Linked DNA regions of Homo sapiens: regions 1, 2, 3, 5, 6 and 7 are each linked to region 4. Evidence: promoter capture Hi-C in 16 types of primary human blood cells and fetal thymus (Javierre and others, 2016). All regions are on one chromosome and are shown on one strand. The core of a region is centred on a gene start or on the middle of the fragment in contact, and the rest is flanking DNA. Distances in the headings are between cores, read along the strand shown. Region 1 has its middle 27 kb from the start of RTP1. Region 2 overlaps RPL39L (ribosomal protein L39 like). Region 3 holds the start of RPL39L (ribosomal protein L39 like). Region 4 holds the start of RFC4 (replication factor C subunit 4). Region 5 holds the start of DGKG (diacylglycerol kinase gamma). Region 6 has its middle 4.6 kb from the start of RTP1. Region 7 has its middle 43 kb from the start of RPL39L.

Region 1 (2,700 bases), core at 146-2,645, 360 kb after region 4:
GCTCATGTACTAAGCACCCCAGAAGGATGTGCAGACCACCTCTGCCTTTGGTTTATGTGGAATGTCACCCCCAGCAAAACCCATCTTGTGCTAACAACACACAGTTATGGTGTTTCTGTAAGAAACCTTAACTTGTCCTGAGAATTTGAAGAGGAATCCTTCCGCTTCCAGAGATCTTTGTTATTCGCTCTCATGACCTATCTATCTTGGCATGATGTGATGGTTGTATGAATGCCAGCAAATCACTATAGACTCTAAGTTCACTGACAGCAGAGTCTGCCTTCTTTGTAAATAAATACTTTACTCTTACCACACATACTGAAATATAGTAGAGTTCAACAAATGTTTCTTAAATGATGAGGGGTCTTTTGGTCTTATATAGTTCAGGTGGTTGGGGTATGGAGTAAAGGATTTAAATATTTGGCCAATCAAATTAAAAAGGGAAGCTGTCCTGGATTTGTTTTAAGTGATGATCCAGGGCAGAGGATTTGCTCAGGACTTAGCAGTAGAATGATGCTCTACCTGAAAAGCTTGTTTGTTTTTGCTGAGTAGGTACTGAGCACTTTCTCACTATTTTTCTCTCCCTTCTCACATTGGTAGCTGCAAACATAGAGCTTGTTTTGTGGTACTCCTATAACACATGTATACATCTATGCCCCAAATCCAGTCCTGGATCCATCTTATTTACAGTTTTATTCCCTTTTACCTTCTGCTTTTGTTTTTACTATTAAAATTTTTTTTAAATTTCAAATTTCCAAATGCAACTCCTTGAAATTCTTCATAATCATTCTTCATAATTCCTCATAATTCTTCAAAAAGAATTCCTTAAAATCATCTAATTTAGTACATAATTAAGTTGTCTGTGTTATCTCAAACATGCCTTTTTATAGTTGATTTGATTCAGTCAGAAAGTTCACATATCACATCGGGTTGTGCGTCTCAATTCTTTTTAACTTTATAGCAGTCCTCCTTCCCCCTCTTCTTCTTTACCATTTATTTATTTGGAAAAAAAATCATGTATCTTGTAGAATTGCTCACATTTTGGACTTTGGTGATACATTCTTGTGGTTTTTGTCTGAGACGTTTCCTCATACTTCGTATTTCCTCTAGACTATCTACAGGCCTGATCAGGTATGTTTTTTTTTTTTTTTTTTTTGGAAGTCTCACTCTGTCACCCAGGCTGGAGTGCAGTGGCACGATCTAGGCTCACTGCAACCTCTGCCTCCCGGGTTCAAGCGATTCTCCTGCCTCAGGCTCCTGAGTAGCTGGGATTACAGGCACGCGCCACCATGCCCAGCTAAATTTTGTATTTTTAGTAGAGACAGGGTTTCATCATGTTGGTCAGGCTGTTCTCGAACTTCTGACCTCGTGATACACCCACTTTGGCTTCTCAAAGTGCTGGGATTATAGGCGTGAGCCACCGCACCCAGCCAGATTTGGATTTTTTAATGTGACTATTTCAGTGCTAGTGTTGGACTGTTCCTGCAGCGTTATATTAGGAGACACGTGATGTCTGATTGCCTTTCTTTTCTTAATTGATCAGTAAGATCAGATGGTGTCAGCCTGACCCATCCACTATAAAGTTCCCCACAACATCTTAATTAATGAGTTTAGCAGATTTAGATTTTTTTCTTTATCATTATTTCATTAGGACTGCAAAATAGTGATATTCTGATCCTATTGTTCCCTTTTATTTTTTATTTATTTACTTTTTGAGATAGAGTCTTGCTCTGTCACCCAGGCTGGAGTTCAGTGGCGCAATCTCAGCTCACTGCAACCCCCACCACCTGGGTTCAAGTAATTCTCATGCCTCAGCTTCGCGAGTAGCTGGGATTACCAGTGTGCTCCACCAGGCCCAGCTGATTTTTTTGTATTTTTAGTAGAGATGGGGTTTCACCACATTGGACAGGCTGGTCTCAAACTCCTGACCTCAAGTGATCTCCCTACTTGGCCTCCCAAAGTGCTGAGATTACAGGTGTGAACCACTGCGCCTCGGCCCCTTTTCTTTTATTAATTGTAATTCTTCTCTAAAGAATAGCTTCCCCTCAACTATTATTTGGTTATCACAAAATGCAGATTACATAAGGAAGCCAAGATAAATATGTAATATTTTTCCCTTGCCTATTTTTGAAATAAATAGTTGGTTTTTTTTATTTAAAATATCATTATTAATTTATGGATTTTTAGCATATTTGATGTACTTCAATGAATTGTGGCCATTATTCTTTTTGATGATCCAATTATTTTGTTTTTGGCCAGTGAAAGCTTCTTCAGGTTAGTTTCATTTGCCTTTTGTCTTTTGACATGACAATAGGAATTTTTGAAATCTGGTACAAGAAAATATTCCAGGCTCATTTTATACATTTATTGACTTATATCTGAAGGAATTATTTTTCCAGAAAGTTCTGATCACTTTTGGTGATCCAGGTGCTGAGAGGTACTTGTTGCTAATGGATTGATGATTTATTTCTTTCAGGTCTGTGTAATAGACAAAGTTAGGAAGTTCATAATTTTTATGGGCAATACAATTTCATTATGATATAATACTTATATTTCCAATTCAAATTCAGATAATAGGAATTTTTATTTACCATCTTAGATTTTATGTATTTCCAATCTCTTTTTGATTACCATAAAAATCTTGGTTCCCAGTAACATTAATAGAAGCACTAATACAATGTGTTACTTACCCTATTAAAA
Region 2 (2,700 bases), core at 121-2,620, 320 kb after region 4:
GTGCCATCTCATGTGCAATTCCTTATAGACCCAGCTTGGTTCTTCTCCAATGCCTCCTTTTGGAGTTGTACCTGATTTTACTACCAGGTTTCATCTGAATCCACTGGGGGATGGGACGATTTTGCTTTTGTTTCTTGGCCAGGAATCGCTTAATGGTGAAAGTCTTGTGAGAAGACATGGCGAGAAACAGAGTCAACCACACACCACTATGGCGGAGAAAGGGAGAGAGAGACAGAGACAATATTACCATAGGATAGGATAAGGTAACATGAAGAAATAACAAGACAAGAAAGAGGATCTTTAGTGCCACAGCGAGGGCTCATTGCCACTCAGGATCCCACAGGCAGCTCAGGAGCAGCTCAGGAGCCAGCAGCGGTCTGAGGAGTCTGATGGCTGTTCTGGTGGATCAGCAGCAAAGGCAGGAGTCCCTTTGTTCCTACTGTTCCTGACTTGATGCTACTCATTTCTCAGCAACATACTTCTGCTTCTCTTGTTAAATGTCCATCAAGAGGAATTATTTTCAACTTTAAAAAAGTTACGAACAGGTAATACCAGTTCATTACAGAAAAATTAAAGCAATAGAACACTAAAAAAAACTATTATCCCATCTAGCTAGAAAAAGCCCCAATATTAACAACTTGATATTATAAGAGCCTTCCAGTTAAGACAGATGTACATGCAGAATATTGTCTTTCTATAAATTGAGATATTGTAGATATTATTTTGTAACTACAACTTATCTAACTAATATGTGACCCTTTTTTGGCAACTCTTTCTCAATAACCCTTTACATTTGGAGGTCTTAAATCTTTTCCAGTGTCCTGCTATGGCAAATAGTACAGAACAGGAAAACATGGTTGAAAATAGAAACCTATAAAACAAGTAATTCATCCCCACAACACTTAAAATATGAATGTATACATTTAAAACATGCGATTTGCTGTAAAACTATCTCACGGTACTTTCATGTTACTACTATTTTAAAAGCCACTGGCTGTGCATACTAATATTTTTATCTAATTATCAAAATTGACCACATTGCCATCTACTGAATTGCATGCTACCACTCCATTTAAAGATCTTGGGTCCTCCATAATTAACGAACATCAACCTGGGGCCAGAGACACAGTAGTTATTTTTAATGATTCAGATGCAAAATAATGTCTACATCTCAGATTGTGAGAGTAATTACATGATGGCAGTAAAGTCTTACTGCAAACAGTGTTGGAGATATACAAACAGTATGGATCTGTCATGACAAAGGCATTTTTTTTTAACTCTAAGATAATGGGGATAGTGGTAGTGTGCAAAAAGTATGACTGTTTCTGACTGTCTGAGTTCACACACAGTGTCTAACCCAGTCTCTTCAGATGTGACCCAAGCTATTATCTTGGTTTCTGTCTTATGGCTCACTGTTGTGAGATGTTTATTCTATGTCTGGCATCTCCCCTAACATGCAGGCAGGAAGAAGAGAAAGAAAGAAAGAAAGGCAAAAGAGTACATGCTGTGAGGCTACCGGCTTTTAAGGAGCTTTACTAGGTATCTCTCTCAATACCTTTGATTACACCTTATTGGCAAGAACTGTGTTCCACTGCCATCCTTAGCAGTAATGAAGGATGGGCACTATAGTTTTTTAGCTGAGCACATGATGCCCCTAACCCCACACAAATCAGGTTCTGCTAAAGAAAAAGGAAGAAGAATGAATAGCAGAGTAGATAACTAGCAGTCTTTGCTATAACAATTTTGGAAAAGATAATTTAGGATACTTCTGTGAATTTCAGCTCTCAAAATAACCAAAAGAAAATAGAGGAAAATTTAAAAAAGAGAAAAAGGAAGTTCTCAATAGAAATACCTATTAGTCTAGGTATTGAAAAATGGGGTGGAAAAAAAGTCCAAATTGATGGGCAACCCATAAATATCATGGTAAGGAAATACCAGAAGAAATAAGAGTGCTAATTATACTGTCTGCCTTTCAACCCTAATATCCAAACTTCAGACACTTCTGAGACAACTGCCCTAGTGGGGAGGCCAGTGTCCCCAGATTTGTACATCTTCCCACTGGGAACTTTCAGGAGCAGGAGACTTTATGTGCAAGTAACAGATGAGTAGGCAACTAAGTTGGGGTATAGTGTGGGGTGTGGTTGAGATACAAATGTTTCATGAAATATAAAACATTGAAAACTAAGCCGCAAGTATCCTTGTAGGAGTCTACAGGTTACGAGAATAACAAATAGGCCTGAAAATGCCAAATGGGTGATAAAGATAGGGAAAGTACACTACTATTTCTGCCCAATCCTTTTATTTTCTTCCCATACATTAGCAGCAAAGAACTTTTAGCTACCAATCACAGTTCATCTTAAATTGACCACATGCTGACTTTAGCTAGCTATCTAGCAGACCCTGTTCTACCCTTTGTATATTAATTCCCTCTATACAATCTATCAGTGACTATTTGGCTCCAACCACTTCAGAAAAAAAGTCTTCAAGAATACAGGGAAAGAACTAGACTGGGTTGCCAACAAACCCAGAGTCTTAACACCCTCTCCCTTGGGAACCCTGGTTGTACTGGTTAGGGTTCTTGAAGCCAATCTTGTTTGAAAGTCTTCTGTAAGAAAAATCTACTGTAGTAAGATAAAGAACTACAGTAGGACAAATAGTTTACTGTACTATTCCAAGTATTCATTTCCAATGAAGAGGATG
Region 3 (2,700 bases), core at 25-2,524, 330 kb after region 4:
CTCACACCTGTAATCCCAGCATTTTGGGAGGCCAAAATGCTCAGGATCACCTGAGGTCAGGAGTTCCAGACCAGCCTGGCCAACATGGTGAAACCCCGTCTCTACTAAAAATACAAAATAATTAGACAGCGTGGTGGCACATGCCTGTAGTCCCAGCTACTTGGGGAGGTGAGGCAGGAGGATCACCTGAACCCGGGAGGCGGAGGCTGCAGTGAGCCGAGGTTGCACCACTGCACTCCAGCCTGGGCAACAGAGTAAGACTCCGTCTTCAAAAAAGAAAAAGAAAAATTGGCCGGGTGCGGTGGCTCACGCCTGCAATCCCAGCACTTTGGGAGGCTGATGCGGGCAGATCATCTGAGGTCAGGAATTCGAGACCAGCCTGGCCAACCATGGCCAACATGGTGAAACCCCGTCTTTACTAAAAATACAAAAATTAGCCGGGTGTGGTGGCAGGCACAGCTACCACAATCCCAGCTACTCGGGAGGCTGAGACGGGAGAATCACTTGAACCCAGGCAGCAGAAGTTGCAGTGAGCCAGGATTGCGCCACTGCACTCCAGCGACAGAAGGATACTCCGTCTCAAAAAAAAAAAAAAAGGAAAAAAAGAGACTTTAAAAGCTGGTGTGCGTTTTAACATTTGTAGCACATCTTTTTTCAGACCAGCCACATTTCAAGTGCTGAATAGCTACATGTGATTCAATGAGCTTTGGTCAGCTCAGCTTTACAACCTCTCAGGTTCTTTCTCTAAGCAAACTCTCTTAGGTTCTGAAATTGAGAAGGCGTGGAGGGTGACTATTGGATTACAAAGCCTTTATGATTCCAACAACTCTCAGTTAATAGAAGCATCCGTCCTGTCTCTTGATGTCCTAGTGACTAAAGACATGTCTAGAGAAGAAACTCTTTTAACTATATTTTTATATAGTTACATGACAGCCTTTGAGAAAATTGAGAATTAAGGCCAGGCCCAGTGCAAAATGAAAATGTTGTGGAGGTGGCGGGGAGGGGAGGCGGGTGCTGGTTTAAAAATTAAGAATTTCAAGATTGCCATAGCAGAGCAAGAAAGTAAGTACAGGGCCCTTCTGAGCCCTATGTGACTGCACGGGTGGGACCCTTTTGAAGCTAGTCCTGGTCAGGGTTTATGTCTCTGGATGAATCCAGATGTGTAAAAGGCAAGGAAGTGGCGAGATTCCTTGGGCTATCTTTGAGAAACGGGGACCTTAAAGGAGACTGCAAAATCTTACCTACTGGAATTAATGGAGGAAAAGAAAGTGTTTGCGCCTGTGAGAACGCCTTGGAAAGAGGCAGTGAGCAGATGAGGCAGATAGGTAAGACACTTGGTTTTGCTGATTAAACCACTGATGAATCAGTGCCACTCACATCCTGGGTAATTCTAGGGACACTAGTTGGACAACGCTGACATCTGAAGAGGTGGCAGGGCGGAACATGGATCCCTTTAAGGCTACTTTATTGTCGATTTCCTCCTTCTCTAAGCTAGAAACAGGGGGTGCCTGAGTGGCCTCCAGAAGCCACTACTGTAGGCCAGGAGCAGTGCCTCACGCCTGTAATCCCAGCACTTTGGGAGGCCGAGGCGGGCGGATCACCTGAGGTCGGGAGTTCGAGACTGGTGTGACCAATATGGTGAAACCCGTCTTTACTAAAAATACAAAAATTAGCCGAGTGTGGTGGCGCGCGCCTGTAACCCCAGCTACTCAGGAGGCTAAGGCGGGAGAATCGCTTGAATCCGGAGGCGGAGGTTGCAGTGAGCCGAGATCACACCACTGCACTCCAGCCTGGGCGACGGAGGGAGACCCTGTCTCAAAAAACAAACAAACAAACAAACAAACAAAAACGCTACTACTGTTGGAGTCGGCTTGAGCTGTGGCATTGTTGTTTCCAGCCCGTGACCCTCACGCCGCCCTGCTCGTTGGGCGGACCGGGCCCTGGCGGCGGGTGAGGAGGAACCTTTACTTACCGGCGCCCTGGCCTCTGCTTTTTTCCCACTCTAGGACGCAAATCTCGATCTGCAAGGGCCTGGGGCGCGGGCGGAAAAGGCGGGCCCAGCTCCCTCAGGTCTGCGTGTCACCGACCCGAACCCGCTCCGTCGTCCTGACGCCCCCGGCCTAGCTGCAGCCACCTTGTCGCAGGGGCCTTGGTGTCTCTGAGACTCCGAGACGCCTCGCCCCCACCTGGCGTTCGGAGGCGGTTGCCTCGCTGGGCGCAGCAATTCAACCGCCGCGCGCCGGATGCTAAGACCGCGATTTCCCCGGATGCTAGGGCGGTGATTTCCCCCGTGACAGGCCCCGCCCCGGCCCCGCCCAGGCCCGGGCGGTCCCGCCCCACTGAGCTGTGGCTCGGGGAGCCGTGGGTCCGACTCCTGCGTGTGATGTGTCACCAAGTTGACTTTGGGGTCCCCCATTCTTCCTTAGTTCTCTATTTTACCTCAGCGCGTTGTCTAGCTGCTGCCTGGCCACGGTACTTAGCACACAGCGTGACTTAATACTGGATAAACGAGGAAAGGATTCGTACGCCCTGGCGGGGCCAGAGGCTCACAGCTTGGGTTCCCGCGAGCACACGAGCCAGGAACCGCCAATGCCTCCAGGGGGCGCTCTCCCTCCCATCGAGCCACCGCCGGGCCATTGGAGACCAGGAGGACCTCTCAGCTCCATCCCTGCGTCTCTAACAATTGTCTCATTTCCCTGC
Region 4 (2,700 bases), core at 93-2,592:
TTCGGCAATTAAAGGTGCTCTGCTTGCACCACAAATGAGAACCTTCACTCCTTTCCTTGGGTCAGAACTCAAAGACCTTTTTTTGTTGTTGTTGTTTTTGAGACAGGGTCTCACTCTTTTGCCTAGGATGGAGTGCAGTGGCGGAATCATGGTTCACTGCAGCCTTGACATCCCAGGCTCCTGTCATCTTCCCACTTCAGCCTCCCCAGTAGCTAGGACTACAGGTGCGTGCCACCACCCCCGGCTAATTTTTTAAATTTTTGGTAGAGACAGGGTTTCACCATGTTGCCTAGGCTGGTCTGGAACTCCTGGGCTCAAGTAATCCTCCTGCCCCGGCCTCCCAAAGTGCTGGGATTACAGGTGTGAGCCATCTCGCCTGGCCAGGGACCTATTTTCATGGCAGAGTCAATGCTTACCTACCTTCAGAGACTTTCTGTGGGGAAGGGAAGGTGGGGGACTCTGTTGTTAAAATAGAAACAGCTGTTTTTCTCATAACACACTCACTTGAAGAAATCAAAACAATGCATAAAAGCATGAGAGATTTAAAAAAGTAATACAAAATCCCACCCAGAAGGTAACTATTTCTAACATGCAGGTAAACATTCTTCCAGGCTGTTTTCAGGGATAAAAAGCATCATTAGCTCGCCTGAAAAGTCCCCGGTTAATTCTATTTTTTTCACTGCTACATGCCCTGGTGCCTAGAACAGTGCCTGGTACATGGTAGATGCTCCGTAATATTTGGTGAATGAATTACCATCTATGATACCCGGTTTCCTTTTCTGTTAAAGGAGCTAAGGCCTATTCCACAGGACAACTGAGTTAAATAAAAGAATGTATGCAAATACATAGTTCCTTGCTTGGCATATGGGGATATGCTCAATAAAATAAATTTTTAATATCTGTTAGCAGCCAAGGTTTTTATAACGTTACTGGATTAGTCCATCCCTGCCTCGGGCTGTTAAACATTAATACAGCCCAAAGCCGGGGCCTGCAAGATGCTGTCCGGAACCACCATTTCACCAAAGGGCGCGGCCAGGGCATGAAAGGGCCACTAGGCTGGGGCCCCGAAGGAGGTGGAAGACCTCACAAGGGGCATCAAGGGCAGGAGTGGGGAAGGCGAAGCGGGCTTGCAGTTCCTCCAGCAGGTTACCAGTTAGCCTGGCTTCTCGTGCAGGTCACCGCCGCCGGCTCGTTCCTCAGGTTTCCGCGATACAAAAAGGACGAGATGGTCTCGAAGTCTTAGCTCCGTCACCTAATCTGAGAATAACGGGCCCAGGAGACTTACGATCACTGATGTCCCCACAGTCGCCTCAGTTCCCGCCACGGAACGGCGGGCGAAAAGCAGGGCGGGAATACGCCGGTAGGAATACGCGGGCACGTAACGCGTCACTTCCGGTGCTGGGGCGCGCTGCTTGCGGAGGGAGTTTGCCCGTATACGGTTTTATTTAGGCAGGTGATGAGCCAGCCGGACTTTCAGGCAGAACTGGACTGGAACAGGCATGGCCTAGGAGGTGTCCCTGTCCCGGTGCATTGCTCCCACTTCAGACGTGAGCGCGACCCTCCCGGAAGGAGTAGAGGTCGCGCGGGCACGGCGCTGGGGCTGCTTACCTGGCAGGCTCAGCAATGAGGGCGGGGCGGCGGCGCGCGGGCCTCTGGAACCCTGCCGGTCCACCGAAGGTCCCGAGCCCGCTATCTTCGTAGGTGCGGGCCTCCGGAGGTGCAGGTCCCTGTCCTCCTTGTCCTGCTTCGTCGCAGAGCAGAACGCGTGTGCTTTAAGGGCAGAGACATCTGAAGATGCTTTGCCTTGCCCTCTTGAGGACACGTGGCTTTTACTTCTAATAGTGTCTGCGTGTTGTGGAGAGAGAAGACCATGCAGCTGTGGACATCTATTATAATTCCTGAGCCCCACTTAGAAATCTGGAAGTGAAGGCGTTCAATAAAAGTTAAAGGACTGATAATCATGTTTAGCCCCACCAAGCTTCATGCACAGTGGGCTAGGCTGGTGCCTGAGCCCACTGCTTTTATCTCTTCCAAGTACTTGGTTTAGCTCTGAAATGCTCCTTAATCCTATTGAAACCTGACCCTTCTCAAAGGCCACCTTCTCTACTGGTCTTTACTAATTACTAACCCATAAGGTTGTTCCGGGTCTTCTTCAAATGACTGTTTTGTTTGGCACAAACTCAGCATGATATCCATTGTTAACTTTGTACGTTTTTTTCATTTATCTTGCAACAAATGCTTACAGAATGTCCACGCACTGTGTTAGATGCCTGCAGATACAGCAGGGAAAACGCTCGAGATGCCCTCAAGTAGCTTTACAGACTAGGAGAGTGACAGACAATGTGATGTGTGGTTATGCAGAGGAAGTAGGGGGCTGTGAGAACTTACATCCCAGGCCTAACCCAATCAAGGGTTTAACCAAAGTAAGGATGCTTTATGCTACTTTGTAATTTCCACAGAGTCTGATACAATCTCTGGACAGTATAAAAAACACACAGGTTATCTATCTGGTCACCGGTTTACATTACCATAACTTATCAAACTGTATACTTAATGCTTGTATATTTTATTGTATGTAAATTATACCACAATACAGTTGATAAAACAAGATCTATGAAAATAGATGGTATCCATTTGCTACCTGAAGGAACAGCACAACCACAGAGAGGGGGATGTTATGATCTCATTTAACAGACAAGT
Region 5 (2,700 bases), core at 68-2,567, 440 kb before region 4:
GTCATCGTATGCTAATGAAGTCCGAGGAGGCAGCGGCGCAGCGCGGGAGAGCGCGCCCACGGGTTCACAGCGCTCCCGGGCACCACTGCGGCGCAGCCACAGATCGCTTCGCGCTGCAGCAGACGCTCCCGCCGCGGGGGGCGACTGGGGGAGGGGTCTCGACCGCCACCCTGAGTTCCGCAGCTCATCCCTCCCATCTGGGAGGTGGTTCTAGCTCTAGTCCCAAGCTTTCCACTGCAGTGATGGTGGGGATGGGGGCAGCACGTCAAATCACCTGTAGGGCTTTTTAGAACTCCACAGCCCCCTCCCCTAATTCTATTCCACTAGTTCAAACGAAGAAAATCTCAGACTAGGCAAGGGGAGGTGGACCGGTGGAGTCTGCGAAAGCACCACAGGTGACTCCGGGTACGCACTCCTCAGGACACAAGCACACACACGGACACATCTTGTGACTCTGAGACTACACAGATCAACCTCAGATTCGACCCTTCCCTCCTTTATTCTCTGAGGTGTCCGTGTTCGCTTCAGCTTCCCTTTAAGTCGCCCTGCGCAGGGGCTTTGTGGAGTGCCCCCAAAGTCCTAGAACCCCGCGGGACGGTCGGAGGCTTTGGCGGCCAGACATTAGGAAAAGCATCTCCTGCTTCTCGGACTGCCTGGAGCGCGAACTGGATATCAAGGAGCCAAGGTTAAGTCCAGAAGAAGAAGGAAATCCGACCAGTTGCTTTAGCAAACTGCCTGGAGCAAGGCCGCCTCCCACCCGCACAGCTTTGAGGCTTGAGGGGGCCTCTCAGTCGCAGAGAGAGCCGAGCCCCACCCTGTGCGTTCCCCAAGCCTGCACCCCTCGAGCGGGGCATCCCTTCCTGCAGGGCTTTGTGGCAGGTGGAACTGTCGGGGTGGGCGCCGTGGCTTTGGCTGCAGCCCCTTCCCTGGCCGCGGGACCGGCTCCCGCTTTGCCCTCCTTTACCAAGTTGCTGCACCGGGTGCTCCCTGAGCCGGGGACCCCCTCCGCCGCGCCGGCCGCCGTCTTACCTCACCAGGCAACACTTGGTTGCGCGGTGGCCCGGGGCGCTCCTTCTTCGCGGTTTATTCCCTTACTTGGGAGGAAAGAGGAACCGAGAGACAGAAGGGGGACCGAAGCTGGCCTCTGGGCGTCTTCCCGCCTGCGCAGCCCTCTCGGGGGAGGGGGATGCAGCCCCAGTGGGTGCCGCGGAGACCAGGCTGCCAGGCTGTGGTTGGTAGCGCCGGGGTCTTCACCCTGTGCTCGGAGTTCAGCAGCTCCAAAGCTGTCTATCTCCGTGGCCCGCTACTACGGCACTGCGGCTCTGTGCCCTGCCCCTCGCAGCCTGGCAAGTCCAGCTGCCACTCTCACTGCGGAGCCCTGCCCCCGGGCGCAGAGCCCGCCCCCGCCACACACACCGGCGCGCGCGCGTACACACACGGCACACACAGACACGCGCTTCCACACATGCACACGCGTGCGCACACACGAATGTGGATCCGCTCGATGGGAACCTGACCCCCTTTGGTGCAACTAGGGCGCGGGCATCATTAGGACGCTTTTTACTGACAGGGCTTCGGTTTGGGAGGAGGAGTTACAGGCTTAGGAGTGTGGAGAGGATGCAACAGTGGTGGGTACCAGAGGGCCCCTGACCCCGGAGGCAAAGGACAACTGTTTGACAAATAAATACCGACTGGGCGTTTCCTTTTCTCAACTCTGGTCAAGGCTACCGTAATATCCCGACCAAATCGAAGAAAAAATAAAAATACAAAATCAACAAGTTCTCTTTGTTTCCCAGGAACTCAGTATCTCTAGGATCCAAATCACTAGCCCTGTCCAGAGGGTCATTTCTGACAACCTTGACTTCGGTGGCAGTGGATTGGTGGCAGTTCAACTCGAAAAGGTTTTCCCCTCGTAGCCTGGTGGAGACTGGCACAGCCTGCCTGAGCTGGACTCTGTTGGATGGGTCGGGTCTCTGGGTGTGTTTAATTCCCATTCTCCTTTGCTTTTAGGTGACCTTGGACTGTATTCCTGCAGAATAAATAGATCTCTTCTTTTTTTAAAATGTAGAAGAGCACAGAAAAGACGCTGGGGTGAGGGGTCGGGGGGAATAGGGGAGCTACATTAGCCAAGGCACTATGACTTGTTGCTTCTCTTTCCATGACGTGCATGTCCACGTGAGGGGGTGATGGTGGTGGTGACACTATTTCAGGCATGTCACACAGCAAGATGACTGCTGTCCATTTCACACCACATTTAGAGTCATTAGGAGTTTAGACTGTCATCTTTAAAATATGTGGAGTTTACTCATTTCCACAGCCGAGAATTCTTTTCTGCCAGTGGGCAGTGAAGGTCCCCGGGCCAGCACTGCAGCCAAGAAAAGCTTTCCGCAGAGTGTGGAGGCGCCGAGGGGCTCTGGGTGTCTGTGCATTTGGGGAAGAAGCCTCAAACACGAATGTCAAACAGCCCTGAGGACCCTGTTGGGTGGTGTCCATACTAGGCTATCTGCAGGCAGGCTGGTGAGACAGATGAGAAACAGAGCTGAGAGATCTCCTTAAGATTCCACACAGTGATGAAGACAGAGCTGATACCAGAACCCCGTGTTTGCGACTCCTCTTATCCTCTGGGTCTTATCCATTCTATCACCCTGGGTGGCTTCTCAAAGTTTCCTTCAGCTAGGCTGAAATAATCTTGGTGAGGGT
Region 6 (2,700 bases), core at 116-2,615, 390 kb after region 4:
TGCAGAGGTGGGTGGTACTGGCAGGCTGGGTACCTGTAATGCTTTCCTTTGCTTTGACCCAAAGGGAGCAGCCCTACTGTTCCTATCTGGCTATGTTTTGGGATTGGACTTGCTGGATTAGTTTACTCTTTGGCTACTTTGCCTTTTTGATCCTTAGTTTGCTTTTTTTTTTTTTTTTTTTTGCAAAATAATGTCAACCTCTACCTACATCATAGAATTGGACATCGTGTTCTCAAGGCACTAAGCTCTTTGAAGGATGAAGAAAAATAATCAGGTACTGTGGTAGAAAGTCTCCAAAGATGGCTGCCACCAATTCCTTCCCTTCCTATAGGCACAGGCAATTTCCCCATCAAGAGTTGAAGTTTATTTCCCATTCCCCTATATCGGGCTGGCCCTGTGATTGCTTTCATCAACAGAATATGACAGGAGTGATGTTATGGGACTTCTGACTCTAGCCTTAAGGAGGACTGGAAGCTTCCATTTATTCTTCCTAGAATGAATCTTCTTGGAAACAAACTACCATGTAGTGAAGAAGCCTGAGCAGCTAAAAGGAAAGACCCAAGTGGAGAAATACCATAATGGTGAATAAGGCATTATGAAAGTTCACAAATGGCAGAGGCATTGTGGAGAGGAAGGGAAGTCCATATTCACGGTAATTGTTTCTTCCAGTGAAAACAAAGGTCTATCCCTTCCTTGATGGAAATGGTCCAGTGTAATCAACTTGCCACCAGGTCGTTGGTTGTTTCCCATGGAATCATGGCCCAATCAATTGTTCAGTGTTGGTCTCTCTCTGTTTTTGGAATTTGGGCATTGTATTAGTCCATTCTTGCACTGCTAAAAAGAAATACCTGAGACTGGGTAATTTATTAATATAAAGAAAAGAGGTTTAATTGGCTCAGGGTTCCATAGGCTGTACAGGTAGCATAGCTGAGGAGGCCTTAGGAAACTTACAATCATGACGGAAGGTGAAGGAAAGCAGGCTTGTCTTACGTGGCTGAAGCAGGAGGAAGAGAGAGCGAAGGGGGAGGTGCTACACTCATTTAAACAACCAGATCTCATGAGAACTCACTCACTATCACCAGAAGAGCAAGGGGGAAATCCACCACTATAATCCAATCACCTCCCACCAGGACCCTCTTCCAACATTGGGGATTACAATTCAACATGAGATTTGGGTGGGGACACAAATCCAAACCATATCAGGCACTTAGCAGTGGATTTAGAGAATTCCTTATATACCATTGTGATATTCCATATAGCATTGCTTCTGACTGGCAACTCATTTCAAAGTAAAGGAAATCTGGCAATGAGCTCACACTCATGAAATTCATTAGTCTTAACTATATCACCCATAATCCTGAAGTAGTTGGCCTGATTGAACAATGTGGTGGTCTTTGGAAGACTCAGTTATAGAATCAGCTGGGGGACAGGACCTTGCAGGGCTAGGATAATGTTCTCCAGGATGTGGTACATGCTCAGAATTAGCAACCATGATGATATAGTGCTTAGTTCCAAGAATTAAAGGGTAGAATGGACTGGCTTTCTCAAAATTAGCCCTAATGGTAAACTAGTTTTTTTTCCCTTTTCTTTCTGTACCCATAACTTTGATCTCTGCTATTTTAGAAATCTTAGTACCCAAGGAAAAAAAATGTTGCCATTAGAGAAGAAAATTAAAAATTCCTTTAAAGTTGAGACTACTACATGGGCTCTTAATATCATTAAATCAACAGATGGAGGGGCTTACTGTTCTGGTCCAGCAATGTTGGGGCATTCTGGAAGGAAAGAGTCTTTGTTTTGGGACTGTGAGGCACATTTAGATCTTTGGTACAGGGTACCAGTAGAAACTTCCAGTCATGGGTCCAGCCCTAAAACACACCCCTCCTTCTTCTCAAATGCCATTTAGGGATAGAAAATTGTGCATAGTTGAGAATTTTTCATGAGTGCATCATTTCAAGAAAAAAAATTAGAGGCTTGTTTTTTCTTTTCATTGCTCTATTTTCTAGTTGGGAACTTAATTTAAAGCATTTTATCCACTTAAAACATGATCACAAACTTTAAGAAATTGACCAGGGTGAGGCCAACAGCTTTAGAGATGTCTGAATTGGCCTTCTCTAAATTGTAGATTCCATGGTGTTAGAGGTCATTTGATAGAGAGCAAGTTGCAATACCACAGTATTTTTTTCTGTCTTGATAGAAATTTTTATTAGAGAAAATACTCTGCTATCCAGAAGGATGCATTATATTGGCCTCTGCACAGCAAGCTTGGGTTCTAAATAAAACTTAATTTGTGCCAATGGGGATTGCATCAGCTGGTTACACACACACACACACTCACACACACACACACACACACCCCTCTGGTGATTCTTACTTTCTGTCTTCTGTCATCATAGTGTTTATTGTAGCAACACCTGCAAAATACTTCTAGAGGATTTGTTCTGGGTAGCACTGTTTGTTATAAGCTCCTCTCAGCTTCACGTATTTTCTGGGAAGGTCCACAGCCCCCATTCTCATTTTGGCCAGTAACTCCCACCTGAGGCAGTTCCCATCATATCTGTGAGGTTTGTTAAACGAGTTTACTTATTTAGGTGTTGGTTGCCTTAATTCAGAGGTAAGAATACTGACTTGAAGGACTGAAAGTTTAATGAAGGGTCCTGAAGAACTTAAGAGTTTTTCCCAATGCCGGCCAGGTGAGATGGC
Region 7 (2,700 bases), core at 158-2,657, 290 kb after region 4:
GTTAACTGTGTTCTGGCGTCAAGCAAAACTTCTGGCTGTAATAGCAATCACTATAGTCTGACTCTCAGGAGGTCTTCCTCTTAGGAAAAGGGGGAGAGTACCACATCACGGGAACACCGTGTGGGACAAAATAATCTGGGTGACAGGCCTTGAGTCCCAGATCATTCCTGTGGGAAAGTTTCTTTCAGCAGAGACACAATTGCAGTACTGGACTCAGCAGGGGACATCTGTGTCTCTATCCAACAGTCAGACAGGCTTGGTGCTCATGAAAGGTCTTAGAGAAAGGGTCCTCTTTCCCCACTTGTCCACCACTGCAGACACAGCTGGGGCTTCTCTCACGGGAACTCTGTGTGGATTCACCTACAGACAGCCTTCCTGGAACACTTCAGGGCAACTGCATCCCCACAGAAGGAGCATTCCCCAGGTTTGGGCTTGCACAAGAAGCAGACTCACAATTTCTCTCTACTTGAAACACCAATATTCCTACAGACAAAAAGAAGTGCCTGTATAATCTGAATAGCTGGAACACTGGGACAGGTGTGAGGCTGGGAGGTGGATAGCTTTTCTGCTGGCCTGGCAGGGGAGCTGAGATAGCTCCCAACCTTCACTCTGATAAGACCTCAGTGCATCTATTTGGGAGCTCCCCAAGCAACCTTAATCAAGGCTGGGATCTCTGCCCACCATTGGGTATTGCATTTACCCACTTGCTTTAGCTACAACCGGTTCCTACCCAGGGATACAATTCCACCCCTACTGTCCTGAAGCTTGAGCCATTAACTCAGTAAATAAAATAATGGAGAAAAAATAAATAAATATGAGTGCACAACACAGGGAAATGAGATAAGCTTCAAAAGACCCCTACCATTCCAATCCCACAGGAGACAATGAACTTGCCTATACCAAGTACATACATACTACAAGTAGCATCTGAGACAGCCATCACACAAAGACTCTCTATAAGCAAGGAATTCTTACAGAATCTTCACTCATAAAAGCACCAAGAACCAAATTCAGCTGTAATAAACTATAAATATTGAAGTCACATCCTTAAGAGAAAAAAAAAGAAATTAAAAAAAATGAAACCAAAAATAAATTCAAGAACAATTACAAGAAATAGTCTACCCAAATGAGAAGGAACCAGAAAAGAGATTCTGGTAATATGACAAAATGGGGTTCTATAATGCCCTGAAAAGATCATACTAGCTCCCCATCTCTGGATCCAAAGCAAGATGAAATCTTTGAAATACCAGATAAGGAATTCAGAAGGTTTATTATTAAGCTGCTCAAGGAGATACTGGAGAAAGGTGAAAACCAACATAAAGAAATTTAAAAATCAATACAGGATGTGGATGAGAAATTTTCCAGAGAGATAGATATAAGGAAAAACTAATCAGAATATCTGGAAATGAAAGACACACTTAGGGAAATAAAAATACAGTGGAAAGTTTCAACAATGAACTAGAACAATAGAAGAAAGAATTTCAGAGCTTGAAGACAAGGCTTTTGAATTAGCCCAATCAGATAAAGATAAAGAATCAAAAGAACAAAGTCTCCAAGAAATATGGGACTACGTAAAATGGCCAAACCTAAGAAGAGTTGTTGTTCCTGAGGGAACAGAGAAGGATAAAAGTTTGGAAAACGTATTTGAAGTAATAATTGAGAAAAAGTTTCCTGGCCTCGCTAGAGATTTAGATATCCAAGTACAGGAAGCTCCTAGAACATCTGAGAAATTAATTGCAAAAAGATCATCACCAAGGCAAAAAGTGATCAGGCTATCTAAAGTTAATATGAAGGAAAGAATTCTAAGAGCTGTGAGACAAAAGCATCAGGTAACCTATAAAGGAAAACATATCAGGCTAATAACAGACTTCTCAGCAGAAACCTTACAAGCTAGAAGAGATTGGGTGTCCTATCTTTAGACCCCTTAAACACAATAATTGTCAGTCAAGAGTTTCGTATCCAGCAAAACTAAGCTTCATAAATTAGAGCAAAATAAAGTCTTTTTCAGACAAACAAATGCTGGGGTTATTTGCCACTACCAAACCAGCACTACAAGAAATGCTAAAAGGTGTTTTAAATTGTGAAAGAAAAGCTTGATATGCACCAAAATAGAACTTCCTGAAAGCATAAAACTATAAGGCCTATAAAATGTAATGAATGTATGAATGTAAATGGCCTAAATGCTCCACTTAAAAGGTACAGAATGGCAGAATGGATTAAAAAAAAACATAAACTAGATATCTTCTGTCTTCAAGAGACTCACCTAACACATAAAAATTCATGTAAACTCAGGGTAAAGGAGTGGAAAAAGATATTCCACACAAATGGAAACCAAAAGTAAGCCAGAGTAGCTATTGTTATATCAGACAAAACAGATTTTAAAGCAACAACAGCCAAACACAAGCAAACAAAATACAAAGAATAACATTATATAATGATAAAAGGATCAGTCCAACAAGAAGATATTACAACCATAAATTTATATGCACCTAACACCAGAGTTCCAAGATTTATGAAACAATCACTACTAAATCAAAGAAATGAGATAGACAGCAACACAGTAATAGTGGGAAATTTCCATACTCCACTGACAGCACTAGAAAGATCACTGAGACAGAAAGTTAACAAAGAAGCAGTGGACTTCAACTATATGCTAGAACAAATGGACTTAACAGATATTTACAGAACATTCTACTCAAC

What was found. Contacts are between HindIII fragments. The CHiCAGO score rates a contact against its expected background, and 5 or more counts as called.
Region 1: a fragment that was not itself captured here is called in contact with the fragment with the promoter of RFC4 in region 4 in 9 of 17 cell types (naive B cells, total B cells, naive CD4 T cells and 6 more); the score reaches 8.1 in naive B cells.
Region 2: a contact is called between a fragment that was not itself captured here and the fragment with the promoter of RFC4 in region 4, in 6 of 17 cell types (naive CD8 T cells, naive CD4 T cells, activated CD4 T cells and 3 more). The highest score is 6.7, in naive CD8 T cells.
Region 3: a contact is called between a fragment that was not itself captured here and the fragment with the promoter of RFC4 in region 4, in 6 of 17 cell types (naive CD4 T cells, naive CD8 T cells, activated CD4 T cells and 3 more). The highest score is 9.7, in naive CD4 T cells.
Region 5: a contact is called between the fragment with the promoter of DGKG here and the fragment with the promoter of RFC4 in region 4, in 1 of 17 cell types (M0 macrophages). The highest score is 5.1, in M0 macrophages.
Region 6: a fragment that was not itself captured here is called in contact with the fragment with the promoter of RFC4 in region 4 in 2 of 17 cell types (total B cells and naive B cells); the score reaches 5.7 in total B cells.
Region 7: a fragment that was not itself captured here is called in contact with the fragment with the promoter of RFC4 in region 4 in 5 of 17 cell types (total CD4 T cells, non-activated CD4 T cells, total CD8 T cells and 2 more); the score reaches 6.1 in total CD4 T cells.

What each region holds. Positions count from the first base shown.
Region 1 is chr3:187,169,228-187,171,927 of GRCh38, forward strand. No RefSeq gene overlaps it. Among named protein-coding and RNA genes, the nearest start is that of RTP1, 27 kb to the right of the region's middle. RefSeq lists an enhancer at 1,616-2,117. The HindIII fragment of the contact is 1,735 bases long and covers 529-2,263 here.
Region 2 is chr3:187,121,123-187,123,822 of GRCh38, forward strand. RPL39L (ribosomal protein L39 like) reads right to left here. Exons shown (of 3, transcript NM_052969.3): 3 at 1-206. The coding sequence starts at 178. The coding sequence ends at 23. It also overlaps the pseudogene RPL39P19. Among named protein-coding and RNA genes, the nearest start is that of RPL39L, 17 kb to the right of the region's middle. The HindIII fragment of the contact is 3,064 bases long and covers 1-2,700 here.
Region 3 is chr3:187,137,241-187,139,940 of GRCh38, forward strand. It overlaps RPL39L (ribosomal protein L39 like), which reads right to left and starts at 2,256. Exons shown (of 3, transcript NM_052969.3): 1 at 1,973-2,256. RefSeq lists enhancers at 1-272, 1,462-1,968, 1,837-1,936, 1,977-2,126 and a silencer at 2,167-2,396. The HindIII fragment of the contact is 4,719 bases long and covers 1-2,700 here.
Region 4 is chr3:186,805,140-186,807,839 of GRCh38, forward strand. It overlaps RFC4 (replication factor C subunit 4), which reads right to left and starts at 1,343. Exons shown (of 11, transcript NM_002916.5): 1 at 1,151-1,343. RefSeq lists enhancers at 899-1,510, 1,511-2,122. The HindIII fragment of the contact is 2,364 bases long and covers 1-1,976 here.
Region 5 is chr3:186,360,917-186,363,616 of GRCh38, forward strand. It overlaps DGKG (diacylglycerol kinase gamma), which reads right to left and starts at 1,318. Exons shown (of 25, transcript NM_001346.3): 1 at 1,030-1,318. RefSeq lists an enhancer at 86-603 and a silencer at 1,388-1,477. The HindIII fragment of the contact is 2,154 bases long and covers 226-2,379 here.
Region 6 is chr3:187,191,496-187,194,195 of GRCh38, forward strand. No RefSeq gene overlaps it. Among named protein-coding and RNA genes, the nearest start is that of RTP1, 4.6 kb to the right of the region's middle. The HindIII fragment of the contact is 1,787 bases long and covers 473-2,259 here.
Region 7 is chr3:187,094,845-187,097,544 of GRCh38, forward strand. No RefSeq gene overlaps it. Among named protein-coding and RNA genes, the nearest start is that of RPL39L, 43 kb to the right of the region's middle. The HindIII fragment of the contact is 1,128 bases long and covers 844-1,971 here.